Linked DNA regions of Homo sapiens: region 1 is linked to region 2. The links are contacts of gene promoters, found by promoter capture Hi-C in human tissues and cell types (Jung and others, 2019). All regions are on one chromosome and are shown on one strand. Each heading gives the region's core, a stretch centred on a gene start or on the middle of the fragment in contact. The rest is flanking DNA. Distances are from core to core; before and after follow the strand shown.

Region 1 (4,538 bases), core at 707-3,206, 130 kb after region 2:
CACTGACAGAGCCAGGACACGGCCCCAAGTTTGGGGTCTCTGAGTCCTGTGTGCTGTACACTGCACTCACGGCCTCCTTTGTCCTGCCCTGTTCTGCCACTGGATGGCCCAACAGAGGTCTTCACTGTGGACCAGCGAAGCCCCTAGGCACCGCCTCCTGAGCTGTGAGCTCGCAGGGATCTTGGCTGTTGGGCTCATCACAGTGCAGTGGGACAGAATTCTAGGCAGCCAAGTGCCTGACTGATCCCACAGACAGCACCCAGCAAGTAACAAGTACATGAATCAGAAAACAAGCCACGAAGGAGGGGGAGGAGGTTGAGTCTCCCATCATTGGCTCTCGCAGTGCCTGCCAGACACTGTTAGAAGTGCTTTATGTGCTTGAGCCCAGGAGTTCGAGACCAGCCTGGGTAATATAAGGAGACCCTGTCTCTACAAAAATAATAATAATTATTATTATTTTAAAATATGGGCCAGGCGCAGTGGCTCACGCCTGTAATCTCAGCACATTGGGAGGCTGAGGCAGGTAGATCACCTGAGGTCAGGAGTTCGAGACCAGCCTCGCCAACATGGTGACACCCCGTCTCTACTAAAAATACAAAAATTAGCGGAGCGTGGTGGCGCATCCTGCAGTCCCAGCTACTAGGGAGGCTGAGGCAGGAGAATCGCTTGTACCCAGAAGGTGGAGGTTGCAGTGAGCTGAGATCACACCATTGCACTCCAACCTGGGCAACAAGAGCAAAACTCCATCTCAAAAATTAATTAATTAATTAAAAAATTAAGAAGTGCTTTCTGGATAGCGGCTGTTAGGTCTCTCAACTGCCCTGTGAGACAGGTACCGGACTGCCCTCCTAATGTTCATGATGATGTCTTCTTCCTTACTTTGCAGATAAGGGCGATTTCAAACTATTTTATCGCCATCATCATTATTGTTCTAACTGGTACTGAGGTCGGTCAGAAAACACAGTCTCTGAGACGGCAAGCCTTCACAGCGGCTGTCTCTCTCTATGGCCCAGCATGTGGTCAGCTTCCATGACGGCCCCGTGTAGTCCTGCCCTTGGCCTTCTGTGTGAGTCCGTCAAGTCAAGCTTCTTGACGATGCTGCTTAAATCTGTCATTACCAAGTATTTGCCTACTTGCTATCAACTCCTGAGAGAGGGGTGTAAAAATCTCCCACTCAGGCTGGGTGCAATGGCTAACACCTGTAATCTCAGCACTTTGGGAAGCCGTGGTAGGAGGATTGCTTAAGCTCAGGAGTTCAAGACCAATCTGGGCAACATAGCGAGACTCCACCTCTACAAAAGAAATTTTAAAAATTAGCTGGGCGTGGTGGCGCACACCTGTAGTTCCAGCTACTCAGGAGACTGAAGCAGGAGGATTGCTTGAGCCCAGGAGGTCGAGGTTGCAGTGAGCCGAGATCTCGCCACTGCACTCCAGCCTGGGTGACAGAGCAAGACCCTGTCAAGAAAAAAGAAAAAAGAAAAGAAAAGAGAATTCCCCCACTCTGCAAAGGACAGTCTTTAACACAAATAATGCTGGAACAAATCAATGTCCCGAGGCATCAAAGTGAACCTCAACCTTTTTTTCACATCCCACCCCAAAATTAACTCCAAAAACTAGAAAACCTCTAGCAGAAAACATCAGAGAAAATCTTTGTGACCTTGGATTAGGCAAAGATTTCTTAAATATGACACCAAAGGTGTGATCCATCAAAGAAAAAAACTGATCAACTAGACCATCAAAATTGTAAATATTTACCCTTCAAAAGACATCACGAAGAAGCAGACTGGGAGGAAACATACATAACCCTTTAAAGAGTTAGAATGTATATGCTAATTCCATTCCTTTAGTGGTAGTTCATCAAAGTTTCTAGTAAATTCATATCTTTACCCTCCCCTTGAACATCGCAGGACCATAGAACCTTTTAATTCCAATTATTTCCCTCCTAACTTTAAGACGATTATTACCTTGTATTTTTCTTTTATCTTCATTTAAACAACACATGACATTTTTACCACCAATAATTGTTTAGATTTGCCCACATATGACAATCTCTTCGACTTTCATCTCTTCTTATACCCCAATTTTTTCATCTGGGGTTATTTTCCTTCTGGCTCAAACATATCTTTTAAAACTTCCTCAAGTGGCCGGGCATGGTGGGCTCACACCTGTAATTCCAGCACTTTGGGAGGCTGAGGTGGATGGATTGCTTGAGCCTAGGGGTTCCAGACCAGCCCTGGCAACATATGGAGACCCCCATCTCTACAAAAAAAAAAACAAGAATTAGCTGGGCATGGTGGTGCACACCTGCAGTCCCAGCTACTCAGGAGGCTGACGTGGGAGGATCACCCAAGTCTGAGAGTTCAAGGCTGCAGTGAGCCATGATTGCACCACTGCACTCCCATCTGGGCAACAGAGTGAGACCCTGTCTTAAAAAATAAAATTAATTTTACAAAAAATTTCCTTAAGCAAGGGTTGTTTGTGGGACACCTTCTTGATTTTTATTTGCCTATGATTGTCTTTATTTTTTTCACTGAATATTGAATTGTATAGGTGGGTAATCCTTTGTGTCTTTATTTTTTCCACTGGATATTGAATTCTAGGTTGACAATCATTTGCATCTTTAATTTTTTTCACCGGATATTGAATTCTAGGTTGGTAATCATTTGCTCTGAGCATTTTGAAGACATCATTTCTCTGTTTCCTAATTCCCATTGTTGCTCCTGAATAGTAAGTTCTCAGCGTAACTATCTTTGAAGATAATCTATATTTTCTCTTGGGCTCTTTTATAAGACTTCTCTTGGTCTTCAATGTTCTGTATTTTTATTCTTATGTGACTCGTGTGGAATCCTTTTTCTTTGGCTTGCTTGAGAGTCACTGGGCTTCTTAAATTTGTGGGTTGCTATCTTTCATTATATCTGAAATAGTTTCAGCCATAATCCTCTTCAAATATTGCCCCTACTCCTATTCTATCTCTCTTCATTTTCTGGAAATCCAATTAGCAATATGCTTACATTTGCACGCAAGTCCTCATGTTCTTTATATTTCCCAGTTCTTTATCTTTCAGGAGTGCAACTCTCCTAATGTCTTTTGCCTTATCCTTCAGTTCATCAATTCCTTCTTCGGTCATGTCTAAACTGTGGTTAAGCTATCTTTTGAGTTTTTCATTTTGATTGTCATGTTTTTATTTCTAAGAGTATGTTTGGTTCTTTTTCAAGTATGCTTGTTCTTCATTAATACATCCAAGCCTCTTATTTCTTCCATAAAACACATTTATTTTCCAGTCCTGCTATTTTTAGTATCTAAATGTTTGGCTGATCTGATTCTACTGCCTGTTGTTTCTGTTGACTTTCCCTCATGGTGTCTTGTTTCCTTGTATATTTAGTGATTTTTTTTTTACTCTGAACTGCTCATTTGCTGTGGAACTTTATGGAAATTTTCTGAGGCCTGAGGTAAAGGCAGAGTCCTTTAGAAAGTAATTGTATTTACTTCTGTCAAACAATTGAGGCACTTCCAATCTGACACTCCTTTAAACTAAAATCCCTTGTTTTGGATAGTTGAGGAAATGTGGATTCAGGCTACATACACACACACGTAGTTCAGGTTATAGTTATTAATTCTTAGAGAATGCTTTTCCTGCTCCACTTGGCACCAAAGTTTGCTACAGGCAGTGCCGATGTAGTATCCAAAGGGGAAATAGATTTTCTAGTTTCCCATGACAGTGAGGTGTAGCCCATGGAGTCCCACATTGAAGGAATGGTCTTCCACTAGACTCTCCTGCATGGCCAGGCTCTGTGCTTTGTCTTCTGACCTCTAGCCACAAAAGTAGTCAAAAAATGATGCTCAGGTTTGCCTATGAGAATAAAAAATTTCAATTCTCCAACTTCAAAATGAAAAGATAGGCTGTTGTCTGGCCACAGCAACAAGCAAACACCAGCATTAAGTCCGTCTCAATCTAGTAGTGACCACTTTCTTTGGTCAACCAACCAGCAGTAGCCCCTCTCCAATAACTAGTCTCCCTCAGTTAGAGATCAATCATTCCCCAAGCTCTCCCACTTCTGAAAGCCTCCTATGCCTGAACTCCACTCTTCCTGAAACACTATGAAGGCCAGCAGTTTGCTTTGTTCGGGCAGTCTGAGCCTTACAATTATAGCTCTCCCATGCTGAACAAGCAATAAGTTCAGCTTTTTGTTTCAGAGATGGAGCAGTGGCCACATCTTTCCATACCTCCCAGGAAAGCCAGATTCAGTGTCCACCTTCCTCTCTGGGTCCCATCTTTTCTCTATCCTGGCCTGAGTACTCCACACTTCCTAGTCAGCTCAAGACAATAATCAACAAGACAGGCATTTTTCATTCTACCCAGAATTTCTAGCTGCTGTTAGTGGGAGGGTTTGTGCAGGTTCTTAACTGGCCATATTGAAAAAGAACAGAAATCTTTGGACTTTATTTTACAGATGAGGAAACTGAGGCATGGGAACATTACATAAATCACTTAATATTATGGAGTCAGTATATCACAGATTCAAACCTTGGAAGCCAGG
Region 2 (4,446 bases), core at 1,741-4,240:
GGGTGCCACATCTAAGATGGTGATTGATAGCAGGTGCCCACCCTGCACTGGCACAACCCTGAGAACAAGCACTGCTTTATTACTTTATAAATACATGTAATTTTGGATTTTTTTTTTTTTTTTTTTGAGATAGGGTCTCGCTATGTTGCCTAGGCTGGTCCTGAACTCCTGGCCTCAAGCGGTCCTCCTGCCTTGCCCTCCCAAAGTGCTGGAATTACAGGCATGAGCCACCACACCCAGCCTGAAGCACCACTTTAAACCCTGCAGCCTAGGCATTGTTCCCCTCACCTTAGTCCCAGCCCTGCTTGGAGAAGGTAAACTGAGGCCCAGGGAGGCATTGGACCTGCTGCATTCTCCGAGGATGCTTCCTGGGATCTGGATCAGTGACCTCTGCCCTCCCCGTCTCCGGCCGCTCCCCTTGCACTGGGCCCTAAGGGGCAGGGACACGGTGGCCCGAGGCCAGGTCACATGGAAGACCACCAGGGAGACCCACTGAGAGACAGCGAGGAGCCTTCCCCAACAAGCAGGCTGCCCTTCGTACTCAAGAAGGGCCCTTCTTAGATTCCATATTTGTCTATTTGGCATCTATTAATTGATTGAAGGCTCAAACAGATGGTCAGAGTTGTTTACACCTGTCCTGCCCTCCAACATTCACACGTGTGTGAGAATCATATTCCTAACATTCCGACCCACACCAAGCCCATATCCCTAGCTACCTCCTCCACCTGACTCTCACACCCCAGGCCAATATTGCCCCAACCCTAAAACACCCTAGGGCCAGGAACCAGGCAACTAGAGACCACCCCAGCCACCCAGAGCCCACCAGAATTGTCCAAACGAAGCTGCTTCCCTGCCCTGCCTGGCCTTTCCCATGGAAACCCCAAGAAAGCCTCGGGCCCTTGGCCTTAAGGACTTTGGGTTGTGTTTCTTTTTAATCTTACATTCAGGGTAAAACATCTTTTCTTCATTTCCTTGAGAAAAAAGAAATCTGCAAAAGATACTGCAAAACTTTCCCTAGAGAAAAAAGCCACACAATGCAACCCCGCTGGGGACACCGCTGGTTTGCCGAGAGACTCATTTTAAACAGAGGCAGAAAGTTCGCCTGTGATATTTCAGCTGGAAATCAAGAAGATATTAGTTGAACATATTGCTTAGGGAGGAATAATAAGGCTGACATTTGCTTTCGTAGGAATTTGTTGTGCAAATTAACCTTGCCAGTGCACGGAAAGGCAAAGTCACCTGGCTTCCTCTGGCTTCCCTAGCAGCCGGGAAATGCAGGCAGGGGGGACGCTGCCCCAGAGAGGAGCAAATGCTCCTGCACTCAGGGTGCCTCATGGCAGAGGCTTGCGAAGAACCCCAAACTGTCAGCGATGGGGTTCAGCTGCTCCTCCAGACGGCTGACGGCTCAGAATCAGGGCTGTCCCAGGTCTTTCTTGGCTGGAACCTGAGCCACAGAGTGTCTTTGTGCACAGGAATCTGTGCAGCCCTATGGGTCAGAGCAGGGCCCTTCCCAGGCAGCTCCACTCACCCTACCTGGGTGGCCCTAAGCCTCACTAGCGACACAGGCAAGTGCCTCCTGGCCGAGTCTTGGGAATTGGAGGGGGCAAGCTCAGCTCCAGAAACAGCAGCCACCATCTGCCCTCATGAATTCACAACACCCAAAAAGGCAGAGAGGGACTCTCCGCCCCACCAGCCCATGGTGAGACCAAGATGCAGAGCTGGAGCCGGCCGCTCCGCACAGACACAGCTCCCCCGCTCCAGCTCGGCACTCCCAGATAAAGCAGGCACCTCCTGACTTCAGAAATAAAACTTTTTTGTCACTCCTTTGTGTGTTTCTGTGGAGAGAGTTGGGTTTCATCCACAAAGAAGCCCTGGTGGCCAGTCCCATGTGGAAAGGAAGGCTGGAGCAGGACCCATTGTAGGCGGTGGGCTCGCCCACTTCGGGGACCCCCTGCAGCTTGTGGAAGGGCCTAAAGTCCCCTCCAGTTTGAAGGGAAACTTTTCCCCTTTCTCCACCCTGTGAAACAAGAGTGGAGGTAAATTTGGACGGAAAGGAGTCAAGAGCCCATCCTAACAGTTTTGGCTGAGCCCTGTGGGGCTTGTTCAACACCTATGGGTAGGGGCAGGGTGTCTGCACCTGCTCAGTTGGTCCACGGGTACAAGCACAGTAGGTCAGGCTGGATCCCATGGGTGTGCAGGCCTCATGCTGTGCCCAGCCACGCGCCACCACCTGGCCCACATCAGTGGGCATGTGTGCTCTGGGGACGTGGTACTAGGCATTGTTTACAGGGCCGAGGGTCGTGGGGTCTGTGCTCATGCGCGTGTGGGGTGTGGAGCGGCACGAGTGTGTGTGGTGTGTGCGTCCTCTGTGTATAGTTCCATTCCTTGGGATTACTGGGTCCCATGATTTGGGGCGGGCAGTCAAGGACCATGGAAAGCATGTCTTTCCTATTTTGTCCTCAAACTGAGATCCCCATGATGCCCAAGCTCGGGGTGCAGACTTGGCTCAGAGCAGAGTCAACTCAAACACTGACAGGTGACAGAAGAACTTTCTGGGTTAAGGAGGGTGAGTGCAGAAAGACGGCCAGATGGGGTGCCGGGTCAGGAAGGGTTTGGAGAGCTGGCAGGGAGGAGAGACTCACCGCAAAATAGGCAGTGTCCCCATCGGTCCAGAGCACCACGAGATCTGCGTTCTCAAGCTCGCCACGGTCGGACATCCCAAACAGGACGCCAGCCTTGAGCCTCCGCACCAGGAGCTGGAAATGGATGGCCTCCTGGGTGTAGCTGACATTCCATGAGAGCTCCAGGGACCCCTCCGGGTCCAGGGGGATGTGATAGGGGAGGGGGCTCTCACGGGGAGCCGAGCCCTGCAGTGCGGCCACCAGGATGACCAGGAAGATGGCCACTGCTGTGCTGTACATGAAGGCTGCCTCCCGCATGCTGGGGCCGGGCAGGCTGGCCCAGCGACTGAGGGCGGGCATGGCTGGGGTGAGCTCTCTGGTCCCACCTGGCCATTTATGCCCTGGTCCTGAATGGGGTGGGTCCAGGCAGCACGGGTAATCACATTTGTCTAGCGGGGAATCCAATTTTCCCTCCCACAAGCTTGCGCCCCAGGCCAAGCACTCAGCCTGCTGCCCTCCTCTAATTGGCACTAATGACACATGGACGTCATCAGTGGGAGTTGAAGTAGACAGGCGGATGCTGTCCCTTCTGAGATGGCTCTGAAGAGCTGTCCCAAAAGCAGATGCACCCTGCAGCCAAGAGGCCTTTCAGACACCCTCTGGCCAGGCACCAGCTGACTGCCTCACAGGCTGTCTGGCCCAGTCCCCAGTGGGATGGGGTCTGCGTCGCCTCTACCCACGGATGAGCAGACTGAGGTCCGAGGAGCTGCTCCAGGCTGACCAGTGAAGGATAGGCCCGTAGCCACTGCAGGCCTGGCCTAGCGAGCAGAGCCGTTTGTACAATACTAGCAGGTGGGCCCATTTCAAACCAAAAATAAGACAATCTCCAAATAGTCCCTGTGTTTAGACACTCTCTCCACGGCCTGCTCTTCCCACTTTTGTCTCCTCTCAATTTTTCCACAGCCTCCAGCTGGTACCACTGCTGCTCCAGAAGGCGCGAGAGCATCATAGGGAGTGGGGGACATGGGCGTGGGGTGCATTGCTGGGGACAGACGGAGCTGGAGCTGCACAGGGGATAGGCAGGCTGCAGGGTGCACTGCTGGGGGTGACAGCCTTTAAGGAAAAGAGGGTGAGTGACAGGCCTGCTCCCCTGTCTCTGAAGCTCCCAAACCCACAGCTTCCTCTTGCCCAGAGCAGATCTGGCCTGAATTTGAAGCCTCTCAGGGCAGCTGGCCGCAGCCCTGCTTCTCCCACACCTGCCACAGGACCTTTGCCATCATCCACCCGTGGGCCCGAGGGTCAGTCTCACCACGGCACCTCTCCCTCCTGTCCTCTCCCACAAGTAGACTGAGGGCAGCTGCCTTCAGGACATTCTGCTTGATCCCTCCAGCTCCACCCCCCAGGCTGGGTTGACAGATCTCTCCAGCTGGACTAGAAGCTGTCCCTCCTCCCCAGCCTCCTCCCTCCCTTCCTTCCTTTTCCCTCCTGTTTCTCGTCTCTCTGGAGAAACCCAGAATCTAGCCTTAGGGGCACATTCATGTCATAGGCTGACAGCAACATTTAGGTCCTTAAATACCCATGACAGCAGGTCTGGAGGCTGCTTCAGCTCTGAGCTCTACGCTGTAGAAAGGAATGACTGTGTCTTTGCACGAACGTGAAATTTGGAGAAAGTGCCAGCCTTCCCCTGGCCCTCGCAGGCAGTGCTCTCTGCCCCACAGTGGCCAGGCCATCCTGCAAAGCCAAGCTCAGGCCATGAGCCCCTCCCCACTGATTGCACCCAGAGGGGCACCGTTCGCCCCCACCCACAGCCCAGGCAGGTGAGGTC

Evidence for each region. The method cuts DNA at HindIII sites, captures the fragments that hold promoters and counts their contacts. A contact is called where the count stands out against the background at its distance.
Region 1: a fragment that was not itself captured here is called in contact with the fragment with the promoter of DBH in region 2 in 2 of the 25 tissues and cell types used here (IMR-90 fibroblasts and spleen).

Annotation. Positions count from the first base shown.
Region 1 is chr9:133,501,021-133,505,558 of GRCh38, reverse strand. It overlaps LOC102723855 (a long non-coding RNA gene), which reads right to left. Exons shown (of 3, transcript XR_428608.4): 3 at 4,414-4,538. Among named protein-coding and RNA genes, the nearest start is that of MYMK, 22 kb to the left of the region's middle. The HindIII fragment of the contact is 3,478 bases long and covers 218-3,695 here.
Region 2 is chr9:133,634,907-133,639,352 of GRCh38, reverse strand. It overlaps DBH (dopamine beta-hydroxylase), which reads right to left and starts at 2,990. Exons shown (of 12, transcript NM_000787.4): 1 at 2,643-2,990. The coding sequence starts at 2,981. RefSeq lists an enhancer at 990-1,725. The HindIII fragment of the contact is 16,885 bases long and covers 1-4,446 here.